Regions from separate parts of the Homo sapiens genome. Here region 1 is linked to region 2. The links are contacts of gene promoters, found by promoter capture Hi-C in blood cells and fetal thymus (Javierre and others, 2016). All regions are on one chromosome and are shown on one strand. The core of a region is centred on a gene start or on the middle of the fragment in contact, and the rest is flanking DNA. Distances in the headings are between cores, read along the strand shown.

Region 1 (6,202 bases), core at 3,021-5,520, 1.2 Mb before region 2:
TTTCTTTATGCTGTCGTGATGAGACTTCAAACATGTCAAACAGAGAACAGAACTGTCTCCTCCTTGCTTCTCACTTAAGCCAAAGCATCTTCCTCCCCTCAACCTCATGTTGGCCCTGTGCACCCTGAAAGGAAGTTGCACTTTTCTTTACTGCCGAGTTGTCACTTTTAATACCTAGACATCTTGTTGAAGTCTGGCTCTTGTTAAAATATTCTATCAGAGAAAAACAGTTTTTCTGTGCTAGCAAAGAACCAAATTTTCTTCCCTTTTGGTTTGATTTTTATAAATCCTTTAAAAGAAATCTTTAAGTAAAAATATGTTTGTGAGTGTGTTTGGGTCTTTGTCTTGAAGTAGTGTAAAATTTTATTTAAAATGAAGGTAAAATGAATTATGGCCTATGGTATAAAGATGGTTAAATAGCAACACAAAAGAAAACAAATAAGCCCCCATCAGCAAAGGTCTAAACAACAAAATGTTCAAATAAACCTGTTATTCTGAAATATGTAATAATAGAGTTTCTTTATAATATTGATGCTGAAGCACTATAGGATCCTGAAATTAACATGTTGAATTAACAAATTATGTACCGCATAGTTTATTATTGAGTGTATTTCTAGTATTCTGTTTTACCATTAATAATCAATTTATGAGATTTTTACAATCTTGATTAAATGCAGCCTTTAAAGAGAATTTTGGACCTCCATCTTAGCGTAAAAAGTTTTTAAACAAGCTGTTTGTTCTAAAAAAGACAAATAGATATGCCCTACAATCTATAACTTCAGTATAATCTCATATATTTCTACATCTAATGATGAGGTACTAAATGTGATTACACGGTAATTCAATGAACTTTTTTTTTTTTTTTTGAGACAGAGTCTCGCTGTGTTGCCCAGGCTGGAGTATAGTGGCGTGTTCTTAGCTCACTGCAGACTCAACCCCCTCCAAGCTCAAGCGATCTTCCCACATCAGCCTCCCAAGTAGCTGGGGCTGCAGGCATACACCACCACACCTGGCTGATTTTTGCATTTTTTGTAGAGCCGGGGTTTCACCATATTGCCCAGGCTCATCTCAAACTCCTGGGCTCAAGCAGTCTGCCCACCTTGGCCTCCCAAATTGTTGGGATTACAGGTGTGAGCCACTGCGCCCAGCCAAATGAACTTCTTTTAATTCAAAATCATTAAAAACAGAAGACTCATGAAAAACAGAAAATTACTCTGACAAATTTGATAAAGATACTTAATAATGTCAATTAAAACGCAACTAAATAAATTGGAGAAATTACTCATATTGCTACAACTTATTTAAGGAGAGTTTAATTTTATAAAATAAATTTCAAGTGAATAGATGATTAGGATAACCAAAATATTCCTCTTTTTCTCTGACAAGCTTCTGGATACACAGATGACTATACATAGTTTTCCTAGTGGTTTTTTATAACCACTAAGTCACTAAGTAAATAACTAAACTGTATTCCTAACCATTCTAGTTATATTGCTATTTGATTGTTTAATATTTGAAAATGTACTTTCCTACTATAGATTAAGGGATCTGGTGAAACATTTACTCCATCTACTTTCTATTAGTAAAATACAATCTTCTTATTTCATTTTCTTATATTCATGACTATGAGGGCAACTTGTTAGTAAGTACTCAAATATCTGTGTAATGAGGCCAAGCACGGTGGCTCACGCCTGTAATCACACCACTATGGGAGGCCGAGGCAGGTGGATCACCTGAGGTTAGGAGTTCGAGACCAGGCTGACCAACATGGTGAAACCCCGTCTCTACTGACAATACAAAAATTGACTAGGTGTGGTGGCACATGCCTGTAGTCCCAGCTACTTGGGAGGCTGAGGCAGAAGAATCACTTGAACCCAGGAGGCAGAGGTTGCAGTGAGCTAAGATCATGCCACTGCACTCCAGCCTGGGCAACAGAGTGAGACTCTGTCTCAAAAAAAAAAAAAAAAAAACTGTGTAATGAATGAAGATATACAGTCCTCTTTATCTGAAGTTCATGATTTCTTTTTTTTTTTTTTTTTTTTTTTTTGAGATGGAGTTTCGCTTTTGTTGCCCAGGCTGGAATGCAGTGGCGCAATCTCGGCTCACTGCAACCTCTGCTTCCCAGGTTCAAGAGATTCTCCTGCCTCAGCCTCCTGAGTAGTTGAGATTACAGGTACCCGCCACCACGCCCGCCTAATTTTTGTGTTTTCAGTAGAGACAGGTTTCACCGTGTTGGCCAGGCTGGTCTCAAACTCCTGACCTCAGGTGATCCACCCGCCTCAGCCTCCCAAAGTGTTGGGATTACAGGTGTGAGCCACCGCGCCCAGCCTGAGCTCATGATTTCTAAAAGTAGATTTTTTTTCTCCAGGAAAAGTGAGCTATATCTTACTTTCTAATACCAAGTCAGAATTTTTTTTTTTTTTTTTGAGATGGAGTCTTGCTCTTGTCACCCAGACTGGAGTGCAATGGCACAACCTTGGCTCACTGCAACCTCCGCCTCCCGGGTTCAAGCGATTCTCCTGCCTCAGCCTCCCAAGTAGCTGGGAATACAGGCATGCACCACCACGTCCAGCTAATTTTTGTATTTTTAGTAGAGACGGGGTTTTGCCACGTTGGCCAGCCGGGTCTTGACCTACTGACCTCGTGATCTTTCTGCCTCAGCCTCCTAAAGTGATGGATTACAGGTGTGAGCCACCGCACCCAGCCCCGAATTTTTTTTACATAAAATGTTTGCCAGTCATATACTAATGTGGGCACATACTAATTATTCCACAAAAACTATCATTACATCATTTGCATGAGGCTGTAGTTATATTTATCATATAGCACTGACAGTCATCCACTAAAGATGTAGACCATTGTTCTTAACTTAATGCTATCATTAGAGATATGAAAATCCATCTGGAGAAAAATTTAGAAGAAGAGCGCCAGATATTACTGCAGCAACAAAAAATATGTCGAAATCGAGCACGTAAATATTTTGTGGAGTCAAATCGGAGAAAAAAGTAAGTAATTGCACTTTATTCAGAAGTATAGAAATTCAAAGTCAATATAAAGTAATAGTTTCTCTACTTTGTAGCACTTTATGAAACTAAGTCATGGCAGTGTTATCTGTGAAACATTGATCAAGATTTGTGTGGCTTTGTAAATTTTATTATTGTTTTCCTTCCCAAAGCACAAGGGTGGTGGTGTATTATCTAGGTCTCTGACAGTAGCAGTCTTTTTTTGTCATAGAACAGCTTATTGCATTGTCATATACACTTCTTAAAATGACTATGAAATGTATTATCTTCTTTTTTTGTATCATTTCATGATTTCATGATGATTTTAAAATTACCAATTAATATTTAGTCTTTTGGTATATAGTTTGAGTTTAATTTGTTATTCACTTCTATATAATTTTTCTATATCTGCCACTTTTCATTCGTTCAATCTGAAAAATTGGAAAAAATATGAATAATGGTATAAAAATTGGAAAAATATGAATAATGGTAGCAATATGAATAACAGTAGAAGTGGTAGAAATGTTTTATAAGTGAATGCTAGAAAAAGGAGCTTTCTAGGGTAAACTAGAAACTATAGTAAAGAAAAAGTACAAATTGTTCAATCACTGCTTAACATTTTTCAGGATGTTTTTTAAATATTAGGCTTTTTTTGAGACAGAGCAGTTATGCCATTTTTTAATTGTTGTTTTTGCTACCTTGTCCATATTTCTACAATATATGAATAGCAGAAAATCCCTAGACTTTATTAACTACATCACTGGGCATATGTTAACAAATCCCATTTGGGGAATAAAAAATTGTTTACCTGTAATTTTTGCCTGGCATTATGTTTCTCTTCAGATTAACTTTTTTATTGTCTGATGTAGTTGAAATTATTTACTGAAATTTAGAATTTTATTTTGTATGCATAGGTTTCTGCTTTTCTCCTACCTTTGGGCTCCTGGCATCTATAAACGGCGTGTGACAGGTGTTCAGTAAAGATGAATAATCATATGTTGAAAGAGTAATGGACTTTGGAGTCAGAGATCTAGGAAATACTAGCTCTATGAATTAAAGGATGTCTGTTTAATGTCTTTAAGCCTCAGTTTTCTCATTTATGATTGGAATTAATTACATCTATTTCAAGGGATTTTGGTGTAGAGCAGAAAGGGTAGAAATAAAGTGGAATATTTGAGAATACATGTAAAAATATCAGTGTCTGACACATAGGACTTCTTATTTTTTATTATTAATGTTTATCAGTTGTTTATTTTACAATAATCAACTTTAATAGCAAGCCTTTATGGAATTTTATTAATAAATTTTCTATTTGTATTCTCTCATCAAATGTAAGAATTCTTATGTAGAAAATAACAGAAAAGAAATCTTGGTTTAAAATTCTAAGAGGCAGGACATTTTCCAATACAATATTATTGTGTTTTATTTTCCGTTACCCTAAAGTGCAATGTAAAGATACATAAACATTTCTTTTAAAACACTAATCATTTGTCTCTGTATTTCACCTTTTATAAGGGGGCTGAATTATTTGTGCACATCCGAATTTCAGAAGCTGTCTATGATTATGGTCTTCTTAACCATGCCATTGTCTATCAATTTATACTTTACATCATTTAAGTTTATGCTGTCCACTTACATTGTGGTCACAGAGGATTTTTTTGTTTTGTTGTTGTTTTGGGGCTGTGTGTGTGTGTGTGTGTGGTTTTTTGTTTTGTTTTGTTTTTTTGAGATGGAGTCTCACTCTGTCACTCAGGCTGGAGTACAGGGGCACAATCTCAGCTCACTGCAACCTCCGCCTCCCAGATTCAAACGATTCCCCTGCCTCAACCCCCCGAATAGCTGGGATTACAGGCACGCACCCCCGTGCCCGGCTAATTTTTTTGTGTTTTTCATAGAGACAAGGTTTCGCCATGTTGGCCAGGCTGGTCTTGAACTCCTGACCTCAAGTGATCCTCCCATCTCAGCCTCCCAAAGTGCTGGGATTATAGGTGGTTTTGGGTTTTTTTTTTAAATAGTATTTTCTTCAGGTAGAGACAGTCTCCTGCCATTTGTCAGTTATACATTGACATTGTCAGTGTTATGTGTCCAGCAGAAGTCAAAGGAAAATGTTCCTAGCATCAAGTTCTCTTTATTTTCATTAGTTGCTTTAAATCACACACATTTTTATTTTCTTATTATTTATTGCATTTCTATTAGCCAATATTTTTCTTGCATTGTATGCTTTTATCACATCCTCAAGTTTTCCATTCTCTCAGTCAGTATCTATACAATGGAGTCCCCTTTGTTTCCCTCCAAGTCCCCTTTGTTTCCGGCTCCAGTAGATGCTGGTTATCTTTTAGGCCTATTGCACAACTGGCATCCCAGAACTTTCTTTTATTGCTCTTAGGAGTTGGAGCCATAATTTTTTGCCTCTCATAGCATCCCTTTGTTTGTTTGTTCTTTGTATTCCATTAGTTTGCTGGAGTACATCCTCAAGTTACTTTCTAATATGCTTCTTTGTAGACCAAGGAATTTTGAGATACACACACAGAAAGGAAATAAACTGGCTTATTTCCTGCTTTTTCAGTCCACCAACCAGAACTATCTTTTGGTAAATACGTGAATGGGCATTTATTCACTCAACATGGAGAATTCAGTGAGCACAAATGATTCAACATTATGTCAGGAAAAGAATTTATTTTGTTAATCTGTTCTACCAGTAAACTTTAGAAAAGTTTACCGGCAATTATCTGGCCGGGCGTGGTGACTCACACCTGTAATCCTAGCACTTTGGGAGGCTGAGGTGGGTGGATCACGAGGTCAGGAGTTCAAGACCAGCTTGGCCAAGATGGTGAAACCTCGTCTCTACTAAAAATACAAAAACTAGCCAGGTGTTGTGGCGGGTGCCTATAATCCCAGCTACTCAGGAGGCTGAGGCAGAGAATTGCTTGAGCTCAGGAGGCAGAGGGTGCAGTGGCGTGACCTCGGCTCACCACTATCTCCACCTCCTGGGTTCAAGCAATTCTCCCTGCTTCAGCCTCCCAAGTAGCTGGGATTACAGGCGCCCGTCACCATGCCCGGCTAATTTTTGTATTTTTAGTAAAGACGGGGTTTCGCCACGTTGGCCAGGCTGGTCTCGAACTCCTGGACTCAAGTGATCTGCCCATCTCGGCCTCCCAAACTGCTGGGATTACGGGCATGAGCCACTGTGCCCAGCCATC
Region 2 (5,792 bases), core at 2,346-4,845:
AAGTTAGCTCCTCTAGAAAACTCCCATGACACTTTAAAAGCTGGGTTATATATCCCTCCTATGAACTCTCACAGTGTATCTTCTGAATATAGTATTTATCACACTGTATTAATATCAGTCTATTTATTTTCTTACTATTGCATCTCTAGTAGAAGTGGATGGCTAAATGATAATTGTTAAAAAGTAAATGTGTTGTACAATTATAACTGAGGGGTTTAAATCTTTTACTATGTCTCCCCAAAAGTTTCAGAAAATGTTAGTTCAGAAAAATTTCAAAAAGAGAATATTGAATAGAAATGTTTTATTATGTACTTTGTGTTTTCCACAATATCAAATACAAAAATGTTTTATTGTGTACCTTTTATTTTCCAGAATACTACTTTAGCCAATAGATGTAAATAAATGAATCTTTGTTTACACGTTTTATTAATAGTAAATGAGTTCTTCCCTCCCAGTAAATATATACCGAATATATATTTAAAGAAATATCAGCCTAAATTGGCAACAAATTTTTAGTCTACCCACAATCTTCAGTCCTGACCCTCATCCCAGTACACAGCACTAACACATAGCAGGCCTGTAACAGATAATTTGTTAAATGAATAAGGCAAATAAACTTTTTAAAGCATATGACTAGTATCTTCTTATATTAATTTCATTACCTGCATATTCATAAAACCAAGCCAGGCACTTCTTGCTTGAAAAATGTTCCTCTCCACTTATTAGTCTAGCAGGGGGTTGGGATCTGCAATAGCTTAGAAAACACACAGACGCCTAAGATTTTTATCACATCTCAACTCTTAGAGAAAAACTAAGTTCAAAATTAACAACTTCCATTCACATTAAACAAAGGTTTTTTTTTTCTTCGGTTGGCATTGTTGGAAAAAAACTGAAGTTGTTAAGTAATTGCAACTTGAAACAGTAGTCTATACATAAGAATTATCGGCTAACAAAACCCAAATACCTTTTCACTCAGTATCAAAATCCAAAAATATCAGTAAGTTATTTCCGCACATTTTAAAAGACTACAAAGAAGTTCAACCTAGTAGGTGGGAAAGTATAAATATTTATTATGATTCTATTGATTTGCATAGAAATTCTATTTGTGTGTAATAGATAAATATTTGAAAACAAACTCTTACAAAGTATATTTTGATACTTAATGAATCAATATTTCAAAATAAAATGTTATATTAAGAGTTGTTTTATCACCTAAGCTTAAATAGATTTTTAAAGATAAATGATGACTTAGGACCTAAGGGTATATTAAATTACACAGATTTAAAAAAAACAACAAAAAAACACTAAAAGTTAATAATAGTCCAAATAATTGGGACAAGGCTATTTAATCCTAGGTTCTGTTCATTCTATTTCATTTTTTTCATAAAATCATTTTCATTGTTTTTCATAAAATAACTAAAATTTGGTAAGTTCAAAATGGCCTCTAGAATTTAATGGCCTTCAGAGAAACTTTTTTCAAGGAACTCAAATAATTACCCTACCACAATGATATAGAAATGATAGAACTTCTGTAACTGAGTAAAGTAAGAGTATCATATTTAAAAATTTAAATTGATAGAGCAAAGTATCACCTGAGTTCTAATAATACTGCCTGCTCAGCTATCTTAATGTACTTAACTTAAATAATTTTAATACATTATATACTTAAGATGGCCATGATATAGTACAAAAATGAATAATAATTTGCCTGTATCTTATAAAAATGTGAGCTACTAAAGTAACCATGTCAAATTCTAATGTTGACAAACAAGAGGTGTATGTATCATCGTTCACATTAATAGCCTAATACTCCATAGACTCCTTTACCAAAACACAGTAATGAGGGAAAAAAGTCGACCAATTACAAAAAAGAAGATGCAGACTATGTAAGTCATCTACCTCACAGTTTAAGCAGATCTCTCTTTAAGGAGAGCTCTATCATTATTTCCTTCTTATAATCCTGGCTACAGTCTCCTTTCAATAGTAGCATCTGAAGTTGTCATATCAAGTGCCAACCATTGATGAAAAGGCAGCTAATATGGTTATTTTTTAAAAAAGCATTTCTCAGTCGGGCGAGGTGGCTCACTCCTGTAATCCCAGCACTTTGGGAGGCCGAGGCGGGCGGATCGCGAGGTCAGGAGTTCAAGACCAGCCTAGTCAACATAGTGAAACCCCGTCTCTACTAAAAATACAAAAAATTAGCAGGGCGTGGTGGCGGGCGCCTATAATCCCAGCTACTCAGGAGGCTGAGGCAGGAGAATCGCTTGAACCCGGGAGGCGGAGGTTGCAGTAAGCGGAGATCGCGCCACTGCACTCCAGCCTGGACAACAGTGGAAGACTCCGTCTCAGAAAAACAAAACAAAACAAAAAAACAAAAAAACCATTTCTCAAACCAAAATTGCAGTTTTTTTGTAGCATAAATTTTGCTGTGATGCCTCCATGATATGCTACAAGGGGATCAAAGAGCTACTACTATATAGTTCTGCCTTGTCTTCTTTCTTACCAGTAGGACAGAGTACAAGAGCTCACAAATTATTTAATTTATGCTGAGAGCTAACAGCGTCCTGAATGCTAGAAGACAAAAAGCATGCAGGGCCTTTCCAACTCTGCACACAGGGACTTGGCATAGGTGAGGCACTATACTTCCAGAAAATGGGGCTCCTGCAATTTAAAAGGCCTCCTGCTGGGACCTTCCGGGTTAGGCCACTCCAAATACTAAATATGGAGGCCAATTATAGCATACAAGTTTTCCTTTCTACCATTCCCAAGACAGTTGTCAAGATTCCTTATGTTCTGCTTTCTTCACACTCTACAAAGAAATTCTAGAAGTGACCCTTCTGCGGATATGTACTCACTTCTAAGTCTAGAAAAAGGCAGAGGAGCGATACGGGAGTAGGGGATCGAGGGTCGGTTGTGGGGTGGGGGTGGGGGTGGGGGGAAGCGCAATTTACATATGCATCTGTTCCCCACCCTGCAGGGCACGTAGACTCTTAACGTGGGCGGCTCTTCTAGTCTCTCCATAAACGCCAGCGTGCACACACTCGAACACGAGGTCGGGTCGGGCGCGGAGACTCGCGGTGTTCGGCACCTACAGCCTAGCTCGATCAAAGGGGCCTCACCTGTCTCCAGCCCCAGCCCGGCAGGCCGGGCCCGACTCCTTTTCCTCCAGTTGTCCAGCAAAGGAGGGAGGAGGGAAGCTTGAAGGGTGGGGGGAGATGGTACCTGGAGATTTTACACTTTTTGAGGCCTCCGTCTTCCGCTACTGCTGCTGCCACCCCAGGGGATTTTCTCTTCTTCTTCACCGGCATCTTCCGCCCTCCCCGGCAGGGTGGGCAGGGGAGCCGGGGAAGGGGGTCCCTGTCCGCTGGAAGCCCCTCAGCGCTGGCACCCAGTTCCCAGAGACAGCAGCAAGCGGAGGAGCAGAGTCGCCAGCCCGCACCGGCGCGGCCCAGCCCGGCCGCCGCCCGCTCCCAGGTATCCTCGTCGTCTTTCTCTGACCGGGACAGGGCTGGCTCCTCGCCGGTGGACACTGCGGTTCGTTCTCACCGGGAGGAGATAACGCGGACAGCGCGGCAGCTCCACCAGTCACAGCAAGCAAGAGGCTCAGCCTAACCCGGAGGCGAATCGCTGAGGCCCGGAAGTGACGCAATCGCGGAGCCGGTCCCGGGAAGGGGCGTGGTTCCGGTTAGCCTCTGCCACTCGTAGGTAGGCCAGGCAGAGCGAAGCTGTCTGACCCGTCGACTGCGGCAGTCCGCGGAATTCTTGTATCCTGTCCAGGGTATCCTGACCTTTCTCATGAAGCTTCTACCGCGCTCTGATGCTGGCAGTCACCGCCAAAAAGTGAAACTACTAATACTTTGCAGTTGACGTTAAAAACAACCTGGTAAAGTAGACCAAGTTCCACTTCTGAGCTCTTCCACACGATAACCTCACCTGAAGTGTTCCCACCCCGTAAATGCATTGTCACCCTGTGTCTTGCGTGTTTTTTTTATGGGCCTGTGATCAGCCACCCACTCCCCCTTCTCCCTACCTTTGCATATCACTTTGTCCTGTATTGAAACTTAGCTCTGCCATTATTTCCACAGAGCTCACCTCTCCGATAAGAGACAGTAGGTGACTGCGACTCAGTAGAGAGAAATTTGGGGGACAGTTCTAAGGAACCTCCCCCTAGACCCAAAACACACTGTAATCTATTCATCTCCACTTAGGTGGAAATACTGTTTTTAAATAATGGTTATTGTATGTAAAGACATAGTAGAAAGTCGTTAGTAATTCTGTTGGTAAAATAATCTCTGCAAACCAACTGTGATGGGAGAAGACTAAAAGTCTTTGAGTAATAGTTGAAGTGGTTCCTGTGAAACTACCCTCACAATGGCACCCTAATCTGGTCAATCCGAATATCATATTTCCTTAGTGTTATTAATTGGTTCAGGATGGACACATACTCAGGCCAGGCCAATGAGTGCCAATGACACAAAATTGAACCACCAGAAAGCAATTTTATTTCCTATGGATTTGAACCAGAGAAGGTATGGAGAATGAAGCCAAAACTCAGAAGAGACTAGTATCAAGCAGAAAAATAGAAAAACCAGGATGTGATTATATGATATGAGCCCAAAATCCATGATATGCCCTGGAATTTTCACTTATGTGAAGCAACAAATTTCACTATTTTGCATATTTAGTTCAATTCTCTGTTACTTAAAACCAAAAGAATGTCAAAGTATATGATCCTTCAACCCATTTAAAAATGCCTGAGGCCAAAATCAAAACAGAATCAGATAAAGTCTCTAAATAGAACTACCATCTACAAAAAGTACAGGACAGAGGAACATGTTAAATACCCAATGCAATCAGCAATATCTAGACGTCAGAAAAGTCTACAGGACAATGACCCAAATTCTGCAACAAATTATTAGGACGAGAGGAGAGAGAAGGAAATTAAAAGACTTAAAGGATATGTCAATCATTTTCAGTATGCAGTTCTTATTTGAATTTGACTCACACAAACAGTTTAAACAATATGATAACATCTCTGTGGCAATTGGAGATGTTAATGCTGGCTGGATATTTGATGAAATTCTAGAACATGTAAAACTTACTTATAGCAATGGCATATCAGTGACACTTGGGGACAGGGATGGAGTAAGCCGGGGAAGACTGACTGCAAAGAAACACAAGGGAACTTTTTGGGTAATGAACATATTCTATGTCTTGATTGAAGTAATAGTATATATACTTGTCAAAATTCATTGAATTGTACACTTAAAAATTGATATTTTTATGCATATTCTTCCTAAATAAAATTTATATAAAATGTGCAAAACAAAACACAAAATAAATGATAATGACAAAACTATTAGAGATAGCCAAACTTATTTCTTCAACTGGTGAGCTGCAAAAGCTAAACAGCCCCTTTTCCCAAGGAGGACCAAAGAAATGGAATAAAACCTAAAGGATAGAAAGAAAGATCTCAGAGGATGATGTTAAAGGGGTGTCCTTCCACAGAGTAGAATCAGGGCCTGATCAAAGAGTAGGGAATTTCATAATGCCTGTCTTGCAGGCTACCAGCATTGCTATAGACCAAAGACCACTGCACATCTCATCTTCTGTTCTTTTTTAAATAGGAATTTTTTTATTGTGATAATTGTGTCCCTTCTTCACCATTATTTATTGGGCGAGAGTGGGAAGTAGATTATTGCTTCTTAGTTCATAGGCCATTGGACCATAAGGAATCACTTTCGAACTAAGGAAGACCCCACTATACCTGGAAATCCTGGACATTGAGCTGA

The links. Contacts are between HindIII fragments. The CHiCAGO score rates a contact against its expected background, and 5 or more counts as called.
Region 1: a fragment that was not itself captured here is called in contact with the fragment with the promoter of DCUN1D5 in region 2 in 1 of 17 cell types (total CD4 T cells); the score reaches 5.1 in total CD4 T cells.

What each region holds. Positions count from the first base shown.
Region 1 is chr11:101,919,756-101,925,957 of GRCh38, forward strand. CEP126 (centrosomal protein 126) reads left to right here. Exons shown (of 11, transcript NM_020802.4): 2 at 2,886-3,005. Among named protein-coding and RNA genes, the nearest start is that of ANGPTL5, 6.3 kb to the left of the region's middle. The HindIII fragment of the contact is 5,772 bases long and covers 1,385-6,202 here.
Region 2 is chr11:103,088,565-103,094,356 of GRCh38, forward strand. It overlaps DCUN1D5 (defective in cullin neddylation 1 domain containing 5), which reads right to left and starts at 3,596. Exons shown (of 8, transcript NM_032299.4): 1 at 3,223-3,596; 2 at 663-754. The coding sequence starts at 3,308. RefSeq lists enhancers at 2,716-3,333, 3,334-3,951, 3,881-3,930, 4,001-4,050 and a silencer at 2,896-3,190. The HindIII fragment of the contact is 604 bases long and covers 3,196-3,799 here.